Linked DNA regions of Homo sapiens: region 2 is linked to region 1. The links are contacts of gene promoters, found by promoter capture Hi-C in blood cells and fetal thymus (Javierre and others, 2016). All regions are on one chromosome and are shown on one strand. Each heading gives the region's core, a stretch centred on a gene start or on the middle of the fragment in contact. The rest is flanking DNA. Distances are from core to core; before and after follow the strand shown.

Region 1 (3,964 bases), core at 790-3,289:
TTAGCTCTGCGGAAGCAAGCCCTCTTCCCGGGACCACGGTGGCTGCAGTACGGGTAAGTGGGTGCCGCACTGGCTTTTTCTGGAACCACACGATCAAGAGGGTTTGGCTACCGAAATGCCTAGAAAGCTTCAGGACCAGGCGCTCTCCTGAAAAGCTATTTGGTCAAGTGAGTGGTTTAGGTGGGCATGCGTGTATATGTGGGCGTGTGTGGGTGTGTGTCCATGAAAGTGGCCATGTCTGTGTGCGTGTGTGCATGTAAGAGTGCCTGAGTGGGTGAGTGTTGACCATGTGCATACGTGGGTGTGTGCAGGTATGTACGGTGTGTGCACATGTGGGTGTGGGCATGCATGTGTATGGGTGTGTGCACAGGTGTGTGGGTGTGCGTGTGGGGGTGTGCATGCAGGTATGATGTGTGTGCACAGGTGAGTGTGCAAGCGTGTGCAGGTATGCATGGGTGTGAGGTGTGCACGTGTGTGTGGGTATGTGCCTGTGTGTGGATGTGCATGGGTGTGTGCCGGCATGCATGGGTGTGGGGTGTGCACAGACAGGTGTGTGCATGGGTGTGCATGTGTATGGGCACGTGCACGTGTGTGGGTGTCCATGTAGGGGTGAGCATGTGTGTATGGATGTACGTGTGCACAGGTGGGTGTGCAAGTGTGTGTGGGTGTGCACAGTGCAGGGGTGTGTGGGTGTAGGTGTGCACATGCCTGATGGTGGACAGGAACCTCAGGTTCCTTCCTACTGCTCTTTCTGGCCCCACTAGTGGATCCGGAGTAGAAACCAGCCAGAGAGAAGCGCACAGGGGAAGCACAGCCATCACTTAGCAAAATCACTTAGTGAAATCTGGGGGAAAATGAGAGTGGGCTGAAGGCAAAATCAGTGTGCTCTTTCAGCTGGAGAACATAGCAATCAGGGGAATAGGGGCATGGAACAGCCCAGAAACTGGATACACAGAGCTGCGCAGCCGTCATATGCCCCAGGAGGAGGAGGGCGGCGGGTGTGTTCACGCACCACGTGCAGCCCTGGCTGCTCTGCTGCTGGAGTCCATTCGGGCTGCTGTGACAACACGCCTAAGCCTGAGCCACTTGTCAACAACAGACATTTATTGCTCACAGTCCTGGAGGCTGCAAGTCCAAGACCAGGGTGCTGGCGGATGTGGCGTCCCATGAGGCAGCCCTCTGCTTCCAAGACGGCGCCTCTTGACAAGGCTCAGGGTGGACAGAGCGAGGGAGCTCCCTGGAGCCTCTTCTACCCGGGCCACTCATGCCATTCGTGAGAGCACAGCCCTCGTGATCTACTCACCTCCCAAAGGTCCCACCTGTTAACACCATCACATTGGGTATTAGGTTCCAACCTATCAATTTTGGGGGCCACTAACACTCAGGCTACAGAAACTACTAATGCATCTTGGGATATTGTGAAACTGAAAGGTGACAACGTGCCAGCAGCCCTCGCTGGCTCTCGGCGCTTCCTGGGCCTCCGTGTCGGCTCTGGCCGTGCTTGAGGAGCCCTTCGGCCTGCCGCTGCGCTGTGGGGCCCCTCTCTGGGGCTGGCCGAGGCTGGAGCCAGCTCCCTCTGCTGGCGGAGAGGCGCGGGCGGGAGCGGGGGCTGAGCGCAGCGCTCGCGGGCGGCGCGGGTTCCGGGTGGGTGCAGGCTTGGCTGGCCCGCCGACGCCTGCTGGGCTTGATCTGGGGATGAGCTCCCTCTGGGCTGCCGGAGTGCCCAGGGTAGATGCTGCAAAGTTCTAAAGGGAGTGCTACTGAGAGGTGAGGCCGGCTGGGCTTCTGGCTCCGGTGGTGACTTGGAGAACTTTTCTGTCTACCTAAAGGATTGTAAACACACCAATCAGCACTCTGTAGCCAGCTAAAGGTTTGTAAATGCACCAATGAGCACCCTGTCCAAATGGACCAATCAGCTCTCTGTAAAATGGACCAATCAGCTCTCTGTAAAATGGACCAATCAGTTCTCCGTAAAATGGACCAGTCAGCAGGATGTGGGTGGGGTCAGATAAGGGAATAAAAGCAGGCTGCGGGAGCCAGCGGTGGCAACCTGTTAGGGTCTGCTTTTGTCCTCTGGGAGCTTTCCTTGTTTGGTTTTCGTAGTAAATCTTACTGCTGCTCAGTGTTTGTGTCTGTGCTGCGTTTGTGAGCTGCAACGCTCACGGTAAAGGTCTACAGCTTCACTCCCGAAGCCAGCGAGACTGTAAATCCACTGGGAGGGGCAAAGAACTCTGGACGTGCTGCATTTTTAGGAGCTGTGACACTCACCGCGGAGGTTTGCAGTTTCACTCCTGAAATCAGTGTAGACCACGAACGCACCAGAAGGAACAAACTCCAGACACACCGTTTTTAGGTAACCGTAACATGTACCGCGAGGGTCTGCGGCTTCATTCTTGAAGACGAGACTAAGAACCCACCAACTTCTGGACACAAAACCACCCCAAAAAGTGAGTTTCTAAAGGAGAAGCTAAAAATAAAGACCACGAAAGTGTTGCCCATGGTGATAGCTCCAGACGTCCGGAGACGGTGTTCAGCGCTGCTGCAGGAGAGGTATGTGGGCAGAGTGGGGAACCGCATTCCTCCATGGAGGCTGCTCTGGAGGGCTGGTGCCTGCATCGGGGTTGCATTCAGCCCCTAACAAAGCTGTAGGCAGCCGCTCCGTGTGGTGCGGGGGAAGCCGGTGCAGGCATTACTCCTACAGCGTTCTGTGGTTTCTTCTCGGGAGTGATACAACCCACTGTCTCCACTGTAAGGTTTAGTTAATGCTGGGTGACAGTCTGATCTCACGTAGCCAGGTACAGATAAAGTACAACACACTCCTTAGTCTCCTTCCTTTCCTGTCCGCCAGGTGCCCACAGGGGGCCTGCACTTCAACTCCTGAGCAGCTGGGCTCCCACCCCTAGCCTGAGCCCTGCTGTTTCCTGCTCTCTGCCCTGTATCCTTGTCAGAGCCTCAGCTCTCTCCCTGTGCTGAGTTGGCGCAGGTGAGACGGAGGGACCAACGCCTGGCCCTTAACGTCAGTGCCTAGTGCACACTTACCCAGTGTGTGCGTGGCCTACCAGCGGTACCCAGCCATGGGGCGGCAGGAATCCCTCTCTGCCTGCAGTCCTGCCACCCTGGTCTTCTGCCTCCCCAGGGAGTTTCCACTTTGCGGAGAAGTGGGGGCCAGAGAGATGGGGGGAGTTAGTGGAGGGAACAGGGAGACAGACCCTTCCCTTCATGGTCCTCAAAGGTACAGGCGCTGGTGGGCTTACCTTATTATGGAGGCTGCAGCTTTTGTGTTCCTTCCAGGACCACAGAAATATACCACACACCCCCCAAAGTAAATAAGTGATTAAAATCAACCGGGATGGGGGCTTGAAGCCGAAATGGAATATAAGCAGTAACAGGTGAACCTCATCGAAGGGAGTGGGGAAAAGAAAACCTACCGCATGCTTTGGAAGACAGTATCATGGGCTGTAAGACAAAAAGAATGGCGTGCAGACACTGTGCCCTAGTTTGTGAAGCTGTTTTGCACAGCAACCTGGGTTAGCAATTATGAGATTACTTTGTGTGTGCTCCAGACTTGAGCAAGCAAGCATATTGTGGGTAATTAGAGCCGGATACATAATTTGCGGGACCTGGTGCGAAATGAGATTGCAGGGCCCTTGCTCAAAACTCATTAAGAACTTAAGGATGGCGACAGCAGAGCTTTAAACTCTGAGCAGGAGGCCCTGTCTGGCCGCTCAGGTCACCTTCCAGCGGCCGCGCTGTGGGTGACGAGCCTCGCTGCTGGAGAAGGGAGCTACCAGTAAGGAGCATGGGAGGCTGGGAGGGGAGGCGGCAGTAGGAGCTTGTAGTTTCAGCACGGAAGTGTCGGTAGACGGCTGGGTAGACGGGTGTGAGCCTGGCATGGGCCCGTGTGTTCTCACCGAGGCTTTAGCTGTGTCCACTGGGGGACCTCGGAGCAGGGACACCCTACAGC
Region 2 (3,767 bases), core at 292-2,791, 180 kb after region 1:
CCTCCAATTTTTTTTTCCCAAGAGCTTGATTTGAAACTCTTCCAGACAAAACTACCAAGAAAAAGCAAGTGCATGATCCCCAGTGTCCTCCACCCTCTCCCTTCCCTCCACTATGCCCTAACCCTAAATGCTCGGGTCTTCCTATCGCTTCATCTCCATTGAGAAAACTCCTACTCATCCTTGAAAACCCCACCAGGGTGTCCCCTCTTTTGAGAGTCTCAGTTGTTGCCCTTGCTCCTGGTGGCTCTCCTTTCTGAAGGTTCCTCCGGGCAGGAGACCCTCAAATCCCCAACCCCTGGGGCTCAGGCTCAGCATGGAGCAGTGAACAGAGAGGACTGGGGGTGGGGGGCACACACCCACTCCACCCCAAATGCAGCCCGGAGGCAGCCAGGCCCTCCGTTGCTCCCAATGAAGGAGGCTGTCCTGCCCCAAGAAACTCAAGGAAAGCCAAGCATTCTTGACAATTAAAGCCACCAGAATATGAATATTTGTCTTTTAAACGCAGCGACTTCTTCCTAGTGTGGGGTGAGGTGCAGAGGAAGGAGAGAAGGAAAGGGGCGGCCAGCGCCCAGGGAACACTGCGTGGCTCTGCCTGGTGGGGCCCTGCAGGGCGCCTGGACGTGGTTGCAAAGGTCCCTGGAAACCAGGCCTCTCTGCGGCGCTGCAGATGTTGGCTCACTCAGGTGGAAGCAGGTAACCGAGAGAATGGGGTGGGGACGTGGCCAAATGGAAAGCACCCAGAGGGAAAGAGACACTGGGCACAGAAACAGTTCCTCCTGTCTGTCCTTGAAAAAGTAGGAAACCAGGAGAGAGGGGGAGGAGGGAGCTGCAGTTCTCACGCAGGGACTAAGCTTCCCCTTTTTTCTCTCTCCAGCAGGTGGTGTTTGTGGCACCAAGTAAATGCTGCATGGATTTTTGCTAAGAATTAGCTGCAGATGGACTAAGGGGAAAGCTGACCCCGGGGCCAGGCGTTGAGCAGCAAAGAAGAGACAGCTGGAAACAGCTGTGCTGGCGCCACATGGTCCTGGAAGGGGTGGCTCCTCCGGCTCCCGCACGCCACCTCGCTCACGGACACCATCACTGCCCTGTGCAGAGGAGCTGGGGGGGCAGCCCCTGAGGGGCCAGCTGTGGGGTGGGCTCTATCAGCAGCCACTGACGGGGACACACGGGGCAACTGAGGTTTCTGGACGGACACAGGTGGGCATGAATGCGTCTCCGCCTGCGCCACCGGCACTGCGGGGCCCTGCCGTGGGGATGTGGTGCTCCCAGGTGGGGGTGAGTGGGGTGAGCCCTGGCTGACCACGCCTCACGGCTTTTGGTTGCTGTTCCTGCACACCTGCCCACTGCCCCCAGCACCACCCTCGGGGGGCTCCGCCATCACACCCATTTCCCAGGTGAGAATGCCCAGGTGCAGCACGCCCTTGAGACGGCTCAGGTGAGTGGGGCGGCTGAGTTTGGAAATGCCCTTCCTCAGGAAAGTGTCCCTTGAGCCTGCCCACCTGGCACAGGCTCTCCAAGGAGGGCAAAATCTGTTAAGACACAGGAGACTCGGAGGCACGCGTAAATGGTTTTTAACCTCGAAGGACAATCCCAGACACTCAGGAGGCTTCCAAGAGGGAACCAGGAGGACCTGGCTGCCTGCTTCCCCTCGATTTGGTCTCGATGACCCGCATCAATTAGGAAATCTGGTGTCACTGACAAGGCATGCATGCTGGGGCCCTCACTAAGATGCACAGAGAGAGAGTGCGCTGTCTGTGGGTGTGGCCTCCCAGGGACGCAGCCTGCCCCACTGTTTTGGTGCCCATGAGGCCCCCAGGAGCCATAGGAGGGGACCCTGTGTCGCCGGGTCCTTTCAGCTGCCTCCCTGAAAGCTCCCTTGTGGCAGAGCTGCGGCCCAGATTGGATTCACCAGGAGACGGGTGCCCTGCTGGGAAACCCGGTGGCCTGCAGAGCCGTCTCCCATTCTCGGGGCCCTGCCCTTCTGGCCCGAGTCCCTCTGGCTGCAGTGTGGGCTTCAGCTCTTTCAGGCTGGTGGTCTGGTATGTGGGGTCCTGGTCAGCCCCCACAGCATGACCAAAAGGCACAGGGTTCCTCCAGGCCGGGGCGACTGCCAGAACCCTGTGGAGCCATCTGCGATGCCGCAGCTGATGGGGGCCCAGGTGACAGTGGCCCTCAGAGTCTAGCAGGTGACCTGGTGGCCCAGCCGAAGGGCCAGGTCAGGGGAAGCTTGTCTGGGGTCTGGGGAGAAGGGCCTGCTGGTGTCCACCCCAGGAGTGGGACCATCTGAGACCCAGCACATCCCAGAGCCCTGCTCGGCCCTCCTCACCTGGGCCTGCCTGCCCGGAACCCGCTGCCCGCTGCCCGCTGCCCGCACCTGTCCACCCCAGCATGGCCCAGGGTGCAGCGCCAGCACCCGCTGCTTGAAAGCTGCTCGCTCCCAGGCTCCACCGTGCACAGCGGCTGGTCTCTGGGTGTCAGAGCGGGGACTATCTGAGGTGCTGGGAGCCCCATCAGATTCCTGCCCAAGCCCGCATCTTAGAACTTGCCCTTCTGTGCAAAGACAAATAACTTCCCAGGCAGGCTCAGGCAGTCCCAACCCCTCCTCTTCCCAGGAGGCATGTGTCTGCCCCTCCATCCCCAGTGGGGATGTGAGCCTGTGACTCAGTTTCTCCTCCAAGCTAAACAAACTCAGGGTGTGGGTGAGCGCAGGGATCCTCCCCACAGGATAGGGCCCTGGGGGAGGGGGCGAGGACAGTGGCCAGGAAGTCCCCTGAGGCTTTGGTGAGCTGAGACTTGGGGACTGTCAGGGACTATAGTATCGGAGTGGCCAAGGTCCCCCGACCTGCCTCCAGTGGAAAGTGCAGGCTGGACCAGAGGCTCATGAAGCGCCCACCCCCGCAAGGCAGTGATCAACTCCTTGACAATGCTGGAGGCGAAACTGATTCAGGAAAAGCCCATTTCTGTTTTTCTTTAAAAACCTTCACATCACAAAGCCCGCGTGAGAGACAGCAGCTCTCCATGGTGAGAAGGAACAGGGCCCCCTGAGGGCAGACTCCTCTAAACGGAGGCTGAGACCTTCACGGCCCCCCCGTGAACTGCCCCAGGGCAGCAGGAAGCCTGTTTCCCAAGGGTGCCCGGCCCTCCTGGACCTTCCGCTGAGAAAGCAGCAGGTTTATGAGGGCAGCAGCTTTGGGGTTCGCCAAGCCCAAGGCTGAGTTCAAGTGTGGGGGTCCTAGGTACAGCCCCCTGCCAGGCCTGGGAGCCACTTCTCAGATGCTCAGGACCACTGGGCAGGAACACAAATGTCACCTCTGTGCCAGCAGCGGCCATGCCTACCTGGGCCGCAGGAGCCAGAGGAACGAGGAGCAGTCAGGCTTGTGTGTTGGGTGGGCACAGCGGCTCCCGGCCTCCAGGCCTGAGGGCACCTGGCTCAAGAGCCAGGCCCGAGTCCACAGGCTCCGGCTACCCACTCTGCTCCTCTAGGGTCACCTGCCCCCAACCCAGCTACCTCCTCTGCTCCCTGCACTGGCAGGTGTCCGCCTGTGGGGCTGGGACGAGAGGTGATGCCCAGGAGGGCCCAGCCCCGCGTCCTCCGAGGAGGGGCTGTACCGGGAGAAACACCCTTCCCCCGGCCCCACCCTCAGGCCAGAACGTTCCAGGACTGCCAGTCTGGAACACAGGGCCCTCCCTGGAGCCCCACACGAAGTCTTGGGGTCGTGCCGGCCAGGCCCATCTCCTCACCAGCAGCCTAGGAACCGGGCACGGGG

What was found. Contacts are between HindIII fragments. The CHiCAGO score rates a contact against its expected background, and 5 or more counts as called.
Region 2: a fragment that was not itself captured here is called in contact with the fragment with the promoter of LINC01511 in region 1 in 1 of 17 cell types (non-activated CD4 T cells); the score reaches 5.9 in non-activated CD4 T cells.

The regions. Positions count from the first base shown.
Region 1 is chr5:1,378,148-1,382,111 of GRCh38, reverse strand. LINC01511 (long intergenic non-protein coding RNA 1511) reads left to right here and starts at 2,039. Exons shown (of 2, transcript NR_125810.1): 1 at 2,039-2,550. The HindIII fragment of the contact is 19,487 bases long and covers 130-3,964 here.
Region 2 is chr5:1,202,013-1,205,779 of GRCh38, reverse strand. All of the region lies in intron 1 of SLC6A19 (solute carrier family 6 member 19), which reads right to left. Among named protein-coding and RNA genes, the nearest start is that of SLC6A19, 2.3 kb to the right of the region's middle. RefSeq lists an enhancer at 1,154-1,717. The HindIII fragment of the contact is 1,375 bases long and covers 854-2,228 here.